4 separate regions of the Homo sapiens genome follow, and all the other regions are linked to region 3. The links are contacts of gene promoters, found by promoter capture Hi-C in blood cells and fetal thymus (Javierre and others, 2016). All regions are on one chromosome and are shown on one strand. Each heading gives the region's core, a stretch centred on a gene start or on the middle of the fragment in contact. The rest is flanking DNA. Distances are from core to core; before and after follow the strand shown. Region 1 has its middle 22 kb from the start of PTGER2. Region 2 overlaps DDHD1 (DDHD domain containing 1). Region 3 holds the start of ERO1A (endoplasmic reticulum oxidoreductase 1 alpha). Region 4 overlaps PTGDR (prostaglandin D2 receptor).

Evidence for each region. The method cuts DNA at HindIII sites, captures the fragments that hold promoters and counts their contacts. A CHiCAGO score of 5 or more calls a contact.
Region 1: a fragment that was not itself captured here is called in contact with the fragment with the promoter of ERO1A in region 3 in 3 of 17 cell types (neutrophils, megakaryocytes and monocytes); the score reaches 7.8 in neutrophils.
Region 2: a contact is called between a fragment that was not itself captured here and the fragment with the promoter of ERO1A in region 3, in 1 of 17 cell types (M0 macrophages). The highest score is 5.3, in M0 macrophages.
Region 4: a contact is called between a fragment that was not itself captured here and the fragment with the promoter of ERO1A in region 3, in 2 of 17 cell types (neutrophils and megakaryocytes). The highest score is 7.3, in neutrophils.

Annotation. Positions count from the first base shown.
Region 1 is chr14:52,290,434-52,295,156 of GRCh38, reverse strand. No RefSeq gene overlaps it. Among named protein-coding and RNA genes, the nearest start is that of PTGER2, 22 kb to the left of the region's middle. The HindIII fragment of the contact is 912 bases long and covers 2,749-3,660 here.
Region 2 is chr14:53,124,269-53,128,742 of GRCh38, reverse strand. All of the region lies in intron 1 of DDHD1 (DDHD domain containing 1), which reads left to right. Among named protein-coding and RNA genes, the nearest start is that of DDHD1, 27 kb to the left of the region's middle. The HindIII fragment of the contact is 536 bases long and covers 1,491-2,026 here.
Region 3 is chr14:52,694,009-52,698,158 of GRCh38, reverse strand. It overlaps ERO1A (endoplasmic reticulum oxidoreductase 1 alpha), which reads left to right and starts at 2,601. Exons shown (of 16, transcript NM_014584.3): 1 at 2,601-2,791. The coding sequence starts at 2,678. RefSeq lists a silencer at 2,130-2,669 and enhancers at 2,920-2,969, 2,575-3,076. The HindIII fragment of the contact is 13,242 bases long and covers 520-4,150 here.
Region 4 is chr14:52,273,500-52,277,829 of GRCh38, reverse strand. PTGDR (prostaglandin D2 receptor) reads right to left here. Exons shown (of 2, transcript NM_000953.3): 2 at 1,106-3,099. The coding sequence ends at 2,866. Among named protein-coding and RNA genes, the nearest start is that of PTGDR, 8.0 kb to the right of the region's middle. The HindIII fragment of the contact is 2,652 bases long and covers 956-3,607 here.

The DNA of each region.
Region 1 (4,723 bases), core at 1,955-4,454, 400 kb after region 3:
TTAACTGGGTGTGGTGGCACGCGCCTGTAGTCCTAGCTACTCAGGAGGCTGAGGTAGGAGGATAGCTTGAGCCCAGGAGGCGGAGGTCACAGTAGGCCAAGATCCTGCCACCGCATTCCAGCTTGGCAGACAGAGCCAGACCCTGTCTCAGAACACAGAAGTTGCTTTTGCCTCTGAGGACATATGCCAATGAAGGAAAGGTGGATTTTATTGTTTTTATTCTTTCAGGGTCTGCAAGTTCAGAAATTGAAGTTTATGTTCTGGCAAAGGTGGGGAGTCTAATAGGAAACCTTCCTCTATAAGGTTAGGACCCAAAAGGACTGCTTCCTTAGGTCAGGAATTATCTAGAAGTAAACCTAAACCCACTTTTACGCTCTAACCCTCCAACACTCCCCCAGGAGATCTTAAGGGAAAAAAAAATTCTTTTGTGTTGAACACTGCAGAGGAAGGAAAGTAAAGAAAAACCTGATCTCTGCGAAGTGACAAGCACGTGCTGGCAGTCTCTGTGAGTTTGTAACTCCAAATCACCTTACCTGGATGGTCCAAAAAACCCTGTGCCCCGAACTGGTTTAAAGAAGTCCTGGACTGACCCTAGGGGCCTGGAGAGTGCACATCCCCTCTGGAGGAAGGCACCATCATTTTAGGCATCAGAGAATCTCCAGAATACATGTTCTCATAATACCCAAGCTCACCAGAAGATAAGGTAACATCAGTCAGAATCAGCAGGAATAGACCTACAGTGACTTCAGGTATCCTTCATTATCTACATTTTCATTTTGAACTCCAGGAACCAAATAGATTTGGATGCATTAGGATTTCCACACTAGGCAAAATTTTGCCATGTAGTGTCACAAAGTCAAGAACCTAATAGATTCAGATAATGAAACTCTTGAAATTCAATAAGCAAAAGACAGATAACTGAATAGAAAAGTGGAGAAAAGACCTGGACAGATCCTTCACAGACAGGGATATGCAAAGGACAATAAACATAGGAAAAGGTGTGGATCAGGGATATGCACATTAAAGCCACAATGTGATACCACTCGATACCCCCAGAACGGCTAAACCGAACTAGAAAGACAATAGGAAGTATTGATGAGCATGTGGATCAACTCGGCCTTTATACATTGCTGTGGAAGTATGAACTGACACAATCCACTTTGGAAGACCCCTTGGCAGTATTTACTAAGGGCAAAACTTATGACCTAGCAATTACATTCAGTTATATCCTTAATAGAAATGCATATGTATGTTCCCAAAAGATGTGTGAAAGGATGCTTATTACTTTTTTTTTTTTTCTTTGAGACAGAGTTTCGCTCTTGTTGCCCAGGCTGGAGTTCAGTAGCGTGATCTTAGCTCACTGCAACCTCCGCTTCCCGAGTTCAAGCGATTCTCTTGCCTCAGCCTCCTGAGTAGCTGGGATTACAGGTGCCTGCCACCACACCTGGCTAACTTTATTTTTTTGTATTTTTAGTAGAGACGGGTTTTCACCATGTTGGCCAGGCTGTTCTCAAACTCCTGACCTCAGGTGATCCACCCACCTTGGCCTCCCAAAATGCTGGGATTACAGGCATGGGCCAGTGCGCCCGGCTGCTTATTACTATTTGTAATAGGTTCAATTAGAAATAACTCAAATGTCCATCTGCAATAGATAGATTAATATATTGTGGTAAATTCATACGGTGGAATTCGTACAGTAGAACACTACAGCAAAGAGAATAAACAAAATATAACTCTGAACAACACGGACGGATTTCACAAGCATACTGCTGAGTGAAAGAAAACAAGTACATACTGATTCCATTTATATAAAGTTCAAAAGTGGACAAAATTCATGTATTAGAACTCAAGGTGGTTTCCTCTTGTGGGTGAAGTCAGTAGCTAAAAAAGGGATTTTGGAGGGGTTTGGGATTCTGTGTTTTTTGTTTTTTTTTTTTTTAATCTGGATATTAGTAACTTAGGTGTATTGCTTTGTGAAAATTCATTTCACTGTCTACTTATAATTCGTATATTTCTCTGTATGCATGTTATACTTCAGTAAAATTTTGAAACTTTTATAAAGAGACATTGAAAAGGACATAAATAAATTGAAAAGTATACAAAATTAATCAATAGATTCAGTGCAATTCCAGTGAAAATCCCAGCAGGTTTTGGTGGAACTAAAGCACTAAGATTAAAAGGGCCCCCTTCAAAGAGAGCTAGGTGGAAGCATTAATGTACCTAAGACAACAGGCCAATGGAATAGAAACAAACATACAAATATGGAAACTTCATATGTGACAGATATGATATTTAAGATCAATGGGGAAAAGATAAACTTTTTGATAAATGATACTTGGACAAGTGGTTATTTATATGGTGAAAGTACAAAACTGGATATTTATATCACACCATACACCAAATAAATCATAGGTGGGTTCAAATTCAAGAGTGAAAGGCAAAACTATAAAGCTTTTATAAAGTAGTATAGAAAAATATTTCATGATTTTAGGTTTAGAAAACATTTCTCAAATAAAACATGAAAAGCTTAGCCATAAAAGAAAAGTTTAAGAAATTAGATTCTAATAAAATAAAAATTTCTATTAATTAAAAGTCATCAAAAAGAGAGTGAAAAGACAGATTAAAGAATGGGAAAAGATTTTTCCAACACATAAAACTGACAAAGTAACAGTAGTTAGGACATCTATAAATCAATATGAAAAACAAACATTATATTTTTTAAAAAGGCAAAAGACTTGAACAGAAGCTTTATAAACTAGAATTTCCAAACAGCCAATAAATGTATGAGAAGGTGTGCAATATCATCATTATTAATATGAAAAATACATTAAAACCTCAATGAAATACCATTACAAACTTACCAAAATGGCTAAAACTAAAAATCTAACAATACAAGTGTTAGCAAAGATGTAGAGCAATGAAAACAATGCTGGTGTTAGTGTAAATTGGAAAACAATTTTTATGATATAATAAAAGGTGCACATATCCTATAACCCTGCAATCCCACTCCTAGATGTATGCCTTAGAGATACTCGTACACATGTCCAACACAAGACATAATAAGAACAGTTAAAACAGCATTGTTTATTTTTCTTTTCTTTTTTTGCCCCTTGAATCATAAAACAGCATTATTTCTAGTAGGCAAATCTAGAAATACCCCAAATGTCCATTGACAGCATGCGATATATTCATACCATGGAATACTATTTGGCCATGAAAATATAGGAACTCAGCTACACGTACAAAAAGTATGAATCTCACAAACATACTATATGGTGAATATCATCCAGATCTCCTTTTCCAAGCCATTGCCCCCAGCCCCTGTGGGTTATGGTTTCTAATGGCTCAGAGCTGGCCCCTTTTCTGGAAAATTGCCCTTGGCTCAAAGGGTACCACCGGGAACACGTGGGCCAAAAACTTAGTAACAGGCTTTCACAAGTGTCTTGGTGGGACCAACAGTGTGGTGCTATTCAAGCTCCAGAGCCCCCCCTTGAGATCAGGCAGAGCTGAGACCTCATCCTTGCCTTGATTCCGTCCCTGCCCTGTCCTGCTGCTTTCACCGCTTTTCTCCCGAAAGCAGGAGCTCCACAGGTCACATGCACCTGACTCTTTGTCCTAGACTGCATGTGAGGAATCCAAGCTAAGACACATTACTAAGCTTGAGAAAAAGACACTGAATACATATATTATGATGCACACATGGGGTAAGATAAAGAAAAGCAAAAGCATGATTTCTTAAAAGTCGGAACAGGGTTTATCTCGGTGAGGGGGAGGGACTGTGATCAGGGAAGGCACACAGGAGGCTTCTGGTACTGGCAGTATTCCGTTTCTTGACCTGCACAATGTCTACATGGATATTTACTTTATAATTACTATTTAACTGCATATGCATGTTGTACACACAATTTAGTATGTATAATGCATACAAAAAGAAGAAAAATTTCCATGTAATCAGAGAGACTTTTTGGTTTTAACTTAAATAAAAATGTATTTCCTAATCGAAGAAAATAAACTGTTAATTTCTGCTTTCTTATATTTATTGAGATTTTTCTTGTAGCCTAGTATATAATCAGAGCTTATAAATATTTCTTGTATCATATTTGTCAACAAAATATGCTATGGATTCATATATAATGGGATGCCCATTAATTTAATTATAATTCAATGAATTATATTAGTTATCTATGACTGCTGAAAAAAATCACCCCAAAATGTAGCAGCATGAAACAACATTTTCTCACCTCACGATTTCTGTGGGTGAGGAATCTGGGTGCAGCTTAGCTGGGTCCCCTAGCTCAGGTCTCTCATAAGGCTGCAGTCAAGACATTGGCTGGGGTAGCAGTCGGCTCAAAGCTGTACTTGGAAGGAAGGATCCACTTCCAAGAACATTCATGTGGTTGTTGGAGGATTTGGTTCCTCCTGGGTTGTGGGACTAAGAGCTTCTATTCCTTGCTGGCTGTTGGCCAGTGGCCTCCCTCCATTTTCTGCCATATGAGCCTCTCCACAATACAGCTCACAGCACAGCAGCTGGTTTCCATCGGAGCGAGCAAGCAACCAAGGCTTATTTGGAAAGGTGTAACTTTCCAGATGTTTTTCTGCTGTATTCCACACCTTAGAAGCAAGTCTGTAGGTCCAGATCATGCTTGCAGGGAAAGAATTACCCAAGGGCATGAATACCTGGAGACCTGAAGACCGGGATCATTGGTAGCTCTTTTAGAAGCTG
Region 2 (4,474 bases), core at 509-3,008, 430 kb before region 3:
ATGCAGTTATGGGCTGTAGGTAGAAGTGATAGACTTTTGTATCAGAACTGTTGGCTTCTGGCCCTTTTTTGCTGACATAATACATATGGCCTAACTGAACCAGCTGTTGCACTTAATTTCTTATGCTCCTACAGTGGACTGAAGGTTAATATCTCCCCAAAATTTGTATGTTGAAATACTAAACCTCTAGGTGATGGTATTGGGGAAGTGGGGCCTTTGGGAAGTGATAAGGTCATACGGCAGAGTCCTGTGAATCGCATTAACACCCTGCTCCTTCCCCACTTCCACCATGTGAGGGCACAGTGAGAAGGCACAATGAACCAGAAAGTGGACCCTCACCAGACACCAAATCTGCTGGTGCCTTGATCTTAGACTTGGCAGTCTCCAGAGATGTGAGACATAAGTTTCCATTGTTAAAAGCTACCAACTTTATGGTATTTTATTACAGCAGCCTAGATGGACTAAGACAGATCCTTAGTCTCCATATATTAGTCCATTCTTATGCTGCTATGAAGAAATATCCAAGACTTGGTCATTTATAAAGGAAAGGGGTTTAATTGACTCACAGTTCCACGTGGCTGGGGAGGCCTCAGGAAACTTACAATCATGGTGGAAAGGGAAGCAAACTCGTCCTTCTTCACATGGTAGGAGGAGAGAGAAATATAGAGCGAAGAGGGGAAAGCCCCTTATAAAACCATTAGATCTCGTGAGAACTCACTGTCAGAATAGCATGGGGCAACCACCCGCGTGTTCTGTTCACCTCCCATGAGGTTCCTCCCCCAACACGTGAAGATTACAATTTGAATTACAGTTCAAGATGAGATTTTGGGTGGGGACATGGCCAAACCATGTCATTCCACCTTTCTTATTCTGTCTTGGTTCATACAACTATACAACTCAATGTAAAAACAGACTCTTAAGGATCTATTTTCACATAAAAAGACCTACCTTTTACTAATAACACCAGGAAGTAAATCAGAGCATTGAGTTAGCTTGCCAGTCATTGTGTGTCTGTAGCGATCTTACCTTCAGGTCTTAGTATGTATTTGTTTTTTGATTCTCTGGGCTTCCTTCTCCAGCTGTCATGGCATAAGGTTTTTATTTTAGAAGACTTGGTGGGGAAAATGGTGTTTAGTTCTACCAAATGGCTGAGGATTCTTCACGGTTAGTCTTGATGTAGCTGTGTGTAACTACTGCATGTGGATTTAGAAACTTCAAACAATATTCCACAAATTAAAATAATGCCATAATTTGGCATGAGATTTTGTAGTTTACAAAGTACTTTCACATACATTATTTTATTAATCCCCATTGTAACCCTGCAGTGAGACAATATCTTCATGTTATAGATGATAAGCTGAGGCTCAGAGAGGTTAAGGGGTGAACTGGAATTTTAGGCTAGGCCTCCTGAGTCCTTAACCCAGTTCTTTTTCTACTGTTGTACAGTCTGCAACTTCACTGTTTACACGATTTGAGCAGATAATGAAGCTTAGGTTGCCAATAATACTTAATATCCTGGATTATTTTGTAACCTGTGTAAAATTTCCTCACTCAACTTTATTGCTATGTATTCCTCCTGTTTGATGATTTTCTAAATAAATTTCTCAATTGTCTGGTAACTTTAGTTTCTTAAGTGTTTCTTCTGCTTTTTTAAAAAAACATATGTTCAAGCGTTTACATCTGTGCTTGTTAGCATTATGAATTTTGACTACACAAATCTTTTTCTCCTTTTTCTCTGTTCTTTTTTAAAAAATTTTAGTTTCTCTTTTGATTTCAACCCGTTAGAGCTTAAATTCTCACGTGATTGTTTTATTTATAGCTAGTTAATCCTCCTGACTAGTAACTATTTTGACAGTCTGACATTTGTTTGCCATCTTCTAAACGCTGTGCTTCTCTTTTGTAACGTGAATTGTTTTCTTTCAATACATTTTTTCAAAACTTTAATTTCATTAATTCAACAAATAGTTAATATTTACTAGGTAAAAAAAAAGATGGGAATGACCACTTCTACGTCAAGTAAAAAGCTTTCCAGAGAAATTGATGCTTGATATGAGTCTTAAAGAAAGATGTTACATCAGCCGGGTGGGTGGCTCATGCCTATAATCCCAGCACTTTGGGAGGCCAAGGTGGATGGATTGCTTGAGCCCAGGAGTTCAAGAGCATCCTGGATAACATGATGAAACCCCATCTCTACTAAAAATACAAAAAATTAGCTGGGGATGGTGGCGCATGCCTGTAGTCCCAGCTACTTGGGAGCTGAAGTGGGAGGATTACCTGAGCCCGGGAAGTCGAGGCTGCAGTGACCCGTGATTGCTCCACTGCACTGCACTCTAGCCTGGGAGATGGGAGTGAGACCCTGTCTCAAAAAGAGTAAAATAGGGTATGCAGACACTACATTTAGATGTATTATAATGAAAATGTTTGAATTCATATTCACTTCTATTTCACCCTTTCAATTTTTCTATTTTTGTGTATCATAATGAATCAAACATTTTAGAACAATAATATATATACATAATTTGTAAATATGTATACATAAAAATACTGAAAATATTTTTACCTTGGGTAAATGATCAGATTTAGAGAATTAACTGTTTTTAACTAGTTGGGAACCAGTGATCACTTATGCAAGGACTGTGTTTTGTGATATATAACTTGAAGAACTTAAAGTACATATTTCTGGACCCTATCTTCAGAGACTGGTTTATTAAGTTTGGGAAGGAATCTTAAAAAATCCATCTTTGCTGGGCGCGGTGGCTCACGCCTGTAATCCCAGCACTTTGGGAGGCCAAGGCAGGCAGATCACGAGGTCAGGAGTTCGAGACCAGCCTGGTCAACATGGTGAAACCCTGTCTCTACTAAAGATACAAAAAATTAGCCGGGCATGGTAGTGGGTACCTGTAATCCCAGCTACTCGGGAGACTGAGGCAGGAGAATCATATGAACCCAGGAGGCGGAGGTTGCAATGAGCCAAGATCACACCATGGCCCTCCAGCCTGGGTGACAGGGCGAGATTCCATCTCAAAAAAAAAAAAAAAAATCCATCTTTTAATTTAATTCCTCAGGTGATTCTGACTATAGGCCAGGTTTAGAAACCACAGGTTTAAATCATGGAAAATATGTAGAGTAGAAAGAGAAAATAGAAAAGTTTGAATGACACTGTGCTGATATTAAAAGTTTCAACTATGTTAATACATATTCTTTTGATTTTAATAATCTGATAGAATGGCTATAATCAGTGTGGAATTGATTGTATCTACTAAGCTAAAATCAACACTGAAAATTCAGACAACTGTTTTACGGTTGTATACTCCATTTTATTTAGCAAGGTTTTTCTTCCATATCTATGCAGGTTATATCAAATATTTTTTTTCTTAGCTAAGTACCTAGAGAGAAATTTTTCCCTAAGCATATAAAATTCTGCATTGCCTAGATCCACCAAAATATTAAACTTGGAAGAGTTGATATAAAATGGCCTGTGATTTAAAGTCTCTTCTCCAAATTGAGATGCAAAGAATTGAGAATATATAAAAGCTACCTCCATGAATTAAAATTTGCAAAAAGGCTAAGAGTCTTATGTTGGAGTCCTTGCCCTGATACCTCAGATTGTGACAGTATTTGAAGATAAGACCTATAAAAGAGGTGATAAAGTTAAATTGAGACATTTAGGGTAGGTCCTAAACTTCCCTAATCCAGTCTGACTGGTGTCTTCACAAGAGGAGGGAATTTGGGCACACAGAGACACGAGAGACACACCCACACACCCACACACGCAGAGGAAAGGCCATAAGAAGACACAGCAAGAAGATGACCATCTGCAAGCCAAGGAGAGAGGCCTTAGATCAAACCAGACCTGCTGACACCTTAATCTTGGACTTATAGCATCTAGAACTATGAGATAATAAATTACTGTTGTTTAAGCCGCTCAATCTTTAGTATTTTGTACAGCAGCCCTAGCTAACTAATACAGAGACAATAAATCTTTTCATTAATTTTACAGCTACACTGCTGAAGCACTAAGACATATATGCAGGTTTTAAAACCCTTACAGCCTTGTTTCTTGAATCAAAATTAGTAAATGGTATTTAGGGTATACTTACATTGTCCGGAATTCTTTACCTCTATCAAAGTGGTTTGTAAATACTATTGACATTATCCCTTGTTGAAGCATTATTTAGTATTCTTAGCATGACTGTTATTTTCAAATGCGATCCCAGTTATATTTTGAGGTATAGGTATTTTTTATGTAAGATAAAATTCTATATAATTGCTAACTACTATCCAACTTAGCAGCCAAGCTAAATAATTATTAGGATAATGATTAATTACTTTTGTCCTGCATTATTCTTTTAGATTACAGTTTCTAGCTAGTGAATGAACAAGTATTCAGGTATTCTAATGCAAGGTAGCATTTTGATGCTAGATCCTAAGTTACTACCTTTCATTCCATTTACCAATTAAATATTTGATTTTT
Region 3 (4,150 bases), core at 1,352-3,851:
CCTTATACATCTTTGTATCCCAAATGTCAAGCTCAGCTTGTCACAGAGTAAGTTTACTGAATTGAAATCATTGAGAGACTGGAACTGGGTTAGGAGGAAACCAGGAAGACGACTTAAGACAGGGAGAACATGACCTGGGTCTGGCCCTAAAAAGGATAACTGGGGCCTGTATATAGGAATATGAAAAAGAGCTTTTGGCCAGGTGCGGTGGCTCACGCCTGTAATCTCAGCACTTTGGGAGTCCAAGGCAGGCGAATCACGAGGTCAGGAGGTTGAGACCATCCTGGCTAACATGGTGAAACCCTGTCTCTACTAAAAATGCAAACAACTTAGCTGGGCGTAGTGGCACGCGCCTGTAGTCCCAGCTGCTCAGGAGGCTGAGGCAGGAGAATCACTTGAACCCAGGAGCTGGATTTGCAGTGAGCCAAGATTGCGCCACTGCACTCCAGCCTGGCGACAGAGTGAGAATCTATCTCAAAAAAAAAAAAAAAAAGAAAAAGAAAAAAAAAAAAAAAAGCTTTCAGGTTAGGAGGGAGATTGTATTAATATGTACATGTGACATGTTGTAGATACTAGAATTAGAGCTTCTCAGGTCCATCAGGATCTCAGATGGGTTGTTGACTTTTACTACATGTCTACTTGGCAGTGATAGGCAGAGCTCTAGGGTTTGCAGTAAAATACATGAGTTTAAGTCATTTGAACTATTTCAACTTTTAATGTGCATGCAAGATGTCGGAAAGCTGCCAGTTTCACCTAGAAACTACCTTCTTAGGCTTGGTGAAGTGGCTCACACCTGTAATCCCAGCACTTTGGGAGGCAGAGGCAGGCAGATCACTTAAGGTCAGGAGTTCGAGACCAGCCTGGCCAACATGGTGAAACCACATGTCTACTAAAAATACAAAAGTTAGCTGGGTATGGTGGCGCAGGCCTGTAATCCCAGCTACTCGGGTAGCTGAGGCGTAAGAATCACTTAAACCCGGGAAGCGGAGGTTGCAGTGACCCGAGATTGCGCCACTGCACTCCAGCCTGGGTGAGGAAGTGAGAGTGTCTCAAAAAAAAGTCTTCTTAAAACAACAAACAAACAAACAAACAAAAAACAAAAAGTAAGGCCAGGTGCGGTGGCTCATGTCTGCAATTCTAGCACTTTGGGAGGCTGAGATGGGTGGGTCACCTGAGCTCAGAGCTAGAGACCAGCCTGGCCAACATGGCAAAACCCCTTCTCTACTGAAAATACAAAAATTAGCCGAGTGTGTGGTGGCTTACGCCTGTAATCCCAGCTACTGGGGAAGCTCAGGCAGGAGAATCTCTTGAACCTGGGAGGCAGAGATTGCAGTAAGCCAAGATGACGCCACTGCACTCCAGCCTGGGCGACAGAGCGAGACTCCGCCTCGAAAAAAAAAAAAAAAGTAATCCCAGCACTTTGGGAGGCTGAGGCGGGAGAATCGCTCTTGAGGAGTTTGAGACCAGCCTGGGCAACATGGTGAAACCTCGTTTCTACTAAAAATAAAATTAGCCAGGCGTGGTGGCGCACGCCTGTAGTTCATGCTACTCAGGAGGCTTAGGTGGGAGGATCGCTTGAGCCCAGGAGTTCGAGGTTGCAGTGAGCTGCGATCGCATCATTGCAGGCCAGCCTGGGTGACCCAGGGAGACCCTGTCTGGAAAAAAAAAAAGCGGATAGACTAGTCCCAACTCTGAATGTTAAAAGACCAGGACTGGGTATCAGAGGACCTCCAATCCTTGCTCACCTTACCTCACTTCTCTAGGCCTGTTTCTTCCTATGATATGAGCGGGTGGCTTCCACCCTCGCTGTCTAATACAGTGGGCACTAGCCAGCCACATTTGACTATGAAATGGGTCTAGTTCGCATCGAATACACACTGGATTTCAAAGACAAAAAAAGTCAAATATCTTATGAATAAATTTAATGTTGGTTATATTTTGAAATAATATTTTGCACATTCGGGGTTAAATAAAAATATTTTAAAAATAAAATGTACCTGTTATTTTTACTCTTTTGCTGTGGCTACTAAAAATATAAATGACATATGCTGCCCTGGTCTAGATGCTCTCTAATATCCCTTTCAGCTTTAAGACTCCGCCGGGAACACGGTGGACACGTAATTCGTACGATTTGATTGTCTCGCATTGAGATACGGAAGGATTGGCCGGGAGTGAGCGGGCTGGGGCTGGGCGGGGCGGCGCGGGGCGGGCACCCCCCGCCCCCCAACCCCGCAGGAAAACACAGGCCCCTCCGGCTTTCGCTCTCGCTCTGGGAACTGGAAGGACCCCCGACTCCCGCGCAGGGTCTGGGGTTGTGCGCGTCGGGTTGCGTCTCCAGGCCGGGGGCGTCAGGGAGCCGGGGGCGGGGACGGGCGCGGGCGCAGCGGACCGGGCGGGGCCGAGCCGGGAAGCTGGTCGGTGCGTCAGCCTCACGCGGCGGGAAGGAACCGGTCCGAGGCCCCGGGCTGCCGGCGCGGGCGCCGCGGCACGTCCACAGGCTGGGTCGCGAGGTGGCGATCGCTGAGAGGCAGGAGGGCCGAGGCGGGCCTGGGAGGCGGCCCGGAGGTGGGGCGCCGCTGGGGCCGGCCCGCACGGGCTTCATCTGAGGGCGCACGGCCCGCGACCGAGCGTGCGGACTGGCCTCCCAAGCGTGGGGCGACAAGCTGCCGGAGCTGCAATGGGCCGCGGCTGGGGATTCTTGTTTGGCCTCCTGGGCGCCGTGTGGCTGCTCAGCTCGGGCCACGGAGAGGAGCAGCCCCCGGAGACAGCGGCACAGAGGTGCTTCTGCCAGGTGAGCGATGTGCGCGTTGGTGCTGAGGGTCCCGGCGCCCTCCGCGGCGTGCACTGTCCCGCACGCCCTGGCGGGTGAGCGGCTGGGGGTGCGTCCTTGCATCTCTTCCCACCGGGAATGAGACTCCGGTGCTGCTGCCCGGTGGCCGGGACTGAGTCTGGCTTGGCGTGGACCGGGCCTCCACGGCAGCCTGGACGTCGCCGCGCCCTCCGGTGCCTCGGACCAGGAGAGGGGTTGGGTGCACGCGGTTGAGTGGGTTTATGCATCTTTGTTGGTCTTATCTGCCCGGGGAGAGTGTGCACAGTGTATAATGCCCTGCCAGTATTTGCTATTTTCACAGAACCTGGATCTTTCTCACTTCTCTCTTGACCAGGAACTTGTGTACCCAGTACCTGTGCTGCGTGCATTTCGCCAGCCTTTCTGGCTAAGACGTTTGTGGGCTGATCTCAGATTTCGATGTTAGGCGGAAGAATGGCTGCTTGCGGTTTTTCTGTGTGTAAGCCCAACTACCTGATGTCTTTGGGACTGCAGTTGCCCTCTGGTTTCTGGTCCTGTGTGCTCTTTTTCTCGAATGTAATGAGATTCTCTTATCGTGACACCCGTTAAGCTGGTACGAATTGGGAGGAAGGTCCTTATTCTTCAGTGCACAAGTTTAATTACAAGCGGATTATGATCATTTCCTTCTGTAAGAGATGTGGTTTCTTGAGCAAAAAATTGAGAGAAACTTACAGTTTTCCATTATCTTCAGTATCTAGTATTTCAATGTGATTACTCTTGTCAAAGCCACTTTTTGGTTGACTCTGTTGATAAAAATTACGTTTTATACAAAATTAAGGGTTAGGCATCCATGTTATTCCTAAGTGGATTTTGCTATTAATTTATTATCAGAAATACCATTTTATGTGTTTAGGGGCATGATACCATGTCAAAGGAAAGATGCATTTAAATATTATGAAAGGTTTCTCTTTCACTACTTTACATTCTTGGATTTTGTTGTTTTGCTGAGTGATTTGGGAGTTGAGGTGAGTGTTATCTAGGAAACTAAGGGAAGTTGAAAGAAAATTGCTACTTTACAACTGAGACATTGAAAAGTCCTTTACCTTCAATCATTACAAAGGACACACAATCAAGTACTTAAAAGGAAAAGGGTCATTTTTCTTCTGATTAGAAATATAACGCAACACCGAGATTAAACATTTAAAAAATAAGATAGAAATAAGTGACTTTAAAATAAAATATTCTTTACGGAAAGAAGATGTCCAATGTAACATTTTCAGCTACATTCTGGAGATTTGGATACTGGAATAAAAGTACATGTTGAACTCTTCAACTTTTACTTTTTTTTTCCTTAATAACCTT
Region 4 (4,330 bases), core at 1,032-3,531, 420 kb after region 3:
ATTAGCATGCATGAGAATCACCTGGAGGGCATGTTAAAGCCCAGATTGCTGGCCCCACCCAAGAGATTCTGATTCAACAGGTCTGACGTGGAGCTGGAGAATTTGCATTTGTAGTAAGTTTCAGGTGTTGCTACTGCTGCTTGTCCAGGACTACTGATTATTCTCTGCAAGAGAATGCTAGAGTGGAATTACTGGAACAACAGCAAAGAACGCTTTAGGTTCTTGATACACTGTTGGGTTGCTATCAAGAAAGGGTATACACATTTACGAACTCGCCAGGGGAACATGAATGTTCTTCTCTGAATAACCTCTGTTATTGAGAGTCATAGGTTTTTTGTTGTTGTTGTTGCTTGTTGTTGATATACAATTTGGTTTTATTTTTGCATTTCCTTGATTAGGCTGAATATTTTTCTACATTTATTAACCATATGTATTTTCTCTTATGTAAACTTTCTCTGTGTTCTTTTCAGTTTTCAGAGTCAAAATTCCTACTCGTTTTCAATACTTGACTTTCAATGCATCTTCTTCCTGTGAAGTTCTCCTGACAACCCTACACGTGGTCCCTAGTTTGGGCCTCCTCTTCTAATAGTAAATGCGTACTCGCAATACTATGGAGAATTTCTATGCTGTATCCTAACTGTTGACATTCCTCTCTACCCCAGTGGACAACGAGCAACTCATGAACCATGATTGAGTCTTATTTTTATTCCTTTCCTCAGCCCCTAATCAACTGCTTGGCACAAGGTCTCTGTAAATTATTTAATGAATTAATGAATAAATCTATACAGATTACCGAAGAGTTGGTTTTAACTCAACACAGACTTCATCCAGATGGTATATCTACATTTTGTATGAAACAAAAAGGAGCACTAGGTCCTTAGGTGAGTCTAAGGACTTACCTAAGCTTGTTTAAAGTAATGTAAAGTAATGAAATGTAAGTAAAGTAATGAAAGCTTGTTTAAAGTAATGTAAGTGTTAATCGGACAGTATATAAAAATCCACACTAGGAAACTGCCAGACAATGAAATATTGCTGGCAACTGTCTACTAAAAAGAAAGCCAAGCCCTTTTCTTTCATTTAAAGAAAAGTAATTTCCTCTGCAAAATACTATAAAATTATATTTATTGATTCATCTGGGGCCTTTTCAAATTAACTGGACAATTATCCTAACACACCTCTCCAAAAAAAGAATACAAAAAACATGTTCTTCCTCTGACAATAAAACATGCATGTACTTACACATTGAAGGTACAAACAAAAGTTAAATTTCAAAAACAACTGTATTTTTTTCATCATGTCATACTGTTAAATCATACTCCTTGTATGCCTAATTTGGCTTTTTCACAGTTTTGCTATACCAAAAAATTACATAAAAAATTACCCAGCTTTATATTATCTCAGATACTGGAAAAAACATAAGTGAAACAAAGGAGGTTGCTGCTCAGTTGGAAATAAATAAACATGAGTACTCTTATATTTGGAAGGGACTTCTGGCTGGAGGTCTTGAGATCACGCAAATGCAGCAGGCTTTGCACCTTGGAGTCCTGAGATTGTCAGATACAAAGGAACTCCAGAGATGCTGAAACCCCTTGAACCTCCCCAGCTGTTCTTTTACCAAAGGTGAAAGCTCTTACCTGCAAGCTGGGTTTAGAGTCTCCGCTTCAGTTGCAGCTGCGTTTCCTCCACTTTTCCCTTTCAGTCATCATATTGCTGACCCTTGAAAACTTTTAAATTACTATTAAAGTGCTCAGTTGTGCTCCTTTTCGGCTATATGCTGCTCCAGTTTTGAAGGTGTAATTTGAAGTAAAATCTTGGAACCTAAGATCTTACCGTCTCCACGGACAGCAGAATACGGCTGTAATAGGTAGCTGTTAAGGTAGATGTTAAGGCCATTGTTACTATCGTCAACTGAGGCTAAGTCCTGGGTGGGCTTTTTGCTGTGCCAAATGCCCCCCTGTGCCACACAGTCAAACAGTAAACATGGCTCTACAGTGAGTCACACACTGGTTTTCAAAGAAGCATAAATCCTTCCACTAAAGAATCCATTGATAGGATAATTCTTTTATAAAATGGAGGTTCTAAAAACTGAAAGAACATTTTGCAACCCACCCCCAACTTTTGATTCCTACTGACACCCTTGACTCAATACAAAAGAAACTGGATTTCAAAAGATAAAAACGAATTTTTGCTTCTTTGGGTTGTGGGCTATAGTCATATCTTGCTCTGCATCTAGTTACAGCTTCAGGTCTCCACCTGAGGCAGCAAGTACTCCCCGATGGTGGCTGGGGAAGCCCCTCCAACTGCCTGACCTGGTCATATTTCCCACCTCACTTCTCTGAGGAACATCATAATTCAGGCTATGCTTAGATCAATTGGCAAAGAAATGAACTAAACATCGGCAATGATATAAAATCAATGAATCAGGTTTCACCAAAAAATGAATAGGGTAAGAAATTATGCTTTTTATGAATGTCCATCGTATAATCGTAAACAGTGGTGTTTCTACTGTATTTTAAAAGACCTGTATGTCTCAAGGCCTCTCTAAAAAAAAAAAATAGGGCCACCAAGCACAAATGTAGGGACAATTAATACCATTGTTTTTTAAGACTTTTAACACTGGTTACAATATATAAAATTTTAGTTGCTGTTAATAAAAAAATGAAAATGCACTGAAGGGGTTCATGACTATAGAATGGTAACACATTGTTAAGATATCAAATACTTTTGAAAATACATATACATGCTTTTGTTATGGGAGGTAACTTTTAAGGATTTAAATTGTAAGTTGTCTTTTTTTTTTTAATCATGGTTCTTTGACTGAAAATGTGACATATTCCTCAGCTTACCACAGAGTGAAAAACACTGTCACAGACTGGATTCCATGTTAGTGGAATTGCTGCACCGGCTCCTGTACCTAAGAGGTCTAATGAAAATCTTGTGAAAAAATATCCGAAATACTGGAGATCTGAAAATGATAAAAATCCAAGGGTCCACAATTGAAATCACAGATAGAAATCGCAAGGCTCGGAGGTCTTCTGCTTCTTCAGAGGTCCTGTTTTTCTCCTTGACATCCTTAAATGCTCCATAGTAAGCGCGATACTGTTTTGAAGAAAAACATTCCATTATGATGTGGAAAGGTTAATGGCAGCAATGGATTCACTTACTTCACCTAAGTTACTGTAAGAACATGACAGCTTAGCTTGGAACACCCATTTTTGGTACATTTACAAGTAGCTAAGGCCACAGCAGCTGATGGGTGCAAGTGGGGAGCTGGGAAGGTGGGGTGTGGCCAGACCTGGGAGGTGGGAAGGAAGCTGAGTACTTGTCGGAGACCCAGTCTGATTAAGTCCCTGAAGGCTATTCTACCTGCTGGGCTCAAGTTTCTAGGTCCCTGCCAGGCCATGAAGATCTGCTGAATCTTTTAGAAACAGGGTCAGCATGCTTTCATAAATACAGAATCTCTTTCTAGCTAGTGTCCTTGCACTTACTTTCTTCAGTTCTCCTTTCTTTCTTCTCCCTGCTTCCTATCTTCTCCTATTAGTTCTCTCAGAAATAAGTCACACCTGTGAAATGTCATATGTATGGAGACACCAATAGAATGGAAGCTTTTAATCAATGTGAAGAGATTGGAAATATGACAATGAAAAGACCTGAGATGACTTGGAAAAAAATACTGTTCAACTCATGTAAATTGCTATACTTATTTTTAGCACAAATTGTTACTTTTTCATGGTTGACATCCTTTTTTTTTTTCTTGTTCAATCTAGAAGGCAAAAACATGCACAAAAATATAAGGCTGCCTTACCTAGGTCCAACCAACTCCTCTTGTCTTGATCTTCCCTGAGGTCTCTGTAGCCTCCTTGGAGCCCTGCAAAGTGCCTCAAACAACAGCTTTTCCTCCCATTCAGCCAACACTGATCTCTAGATCAGCACAACCATTGCTTTCCACTCTGCCTAAGGCTGGCCACTTTTTTCTTTTTTCCATTACATTCTCTATGCCTACAATTCTAAATACATTTTAGGATAAATGGACTCTAATGGAACAGGAAGCGTGCAAACTCAACATTAGTAAGAAGGGATATGGATAAGAGACTGGACCCATTCGAGGCAATCAGAGAGCATCTCCTGGAGAAGATGCATTTTTCCCATAATCATTTCCTTACTGTTCTACTTTCTTCTCTGTAGAGCATTTCAGCAGGCTCAGCCACTCCAATCTAGTGCATTTAGGAAGACACCTTACACTGGACTCAGCTGTTTAATCTGGATGCCCTCGCCCATCTGAAGTCGGGCGGGGGCGGAGGGAATCTTAACAACTTCTCCATAACATAAA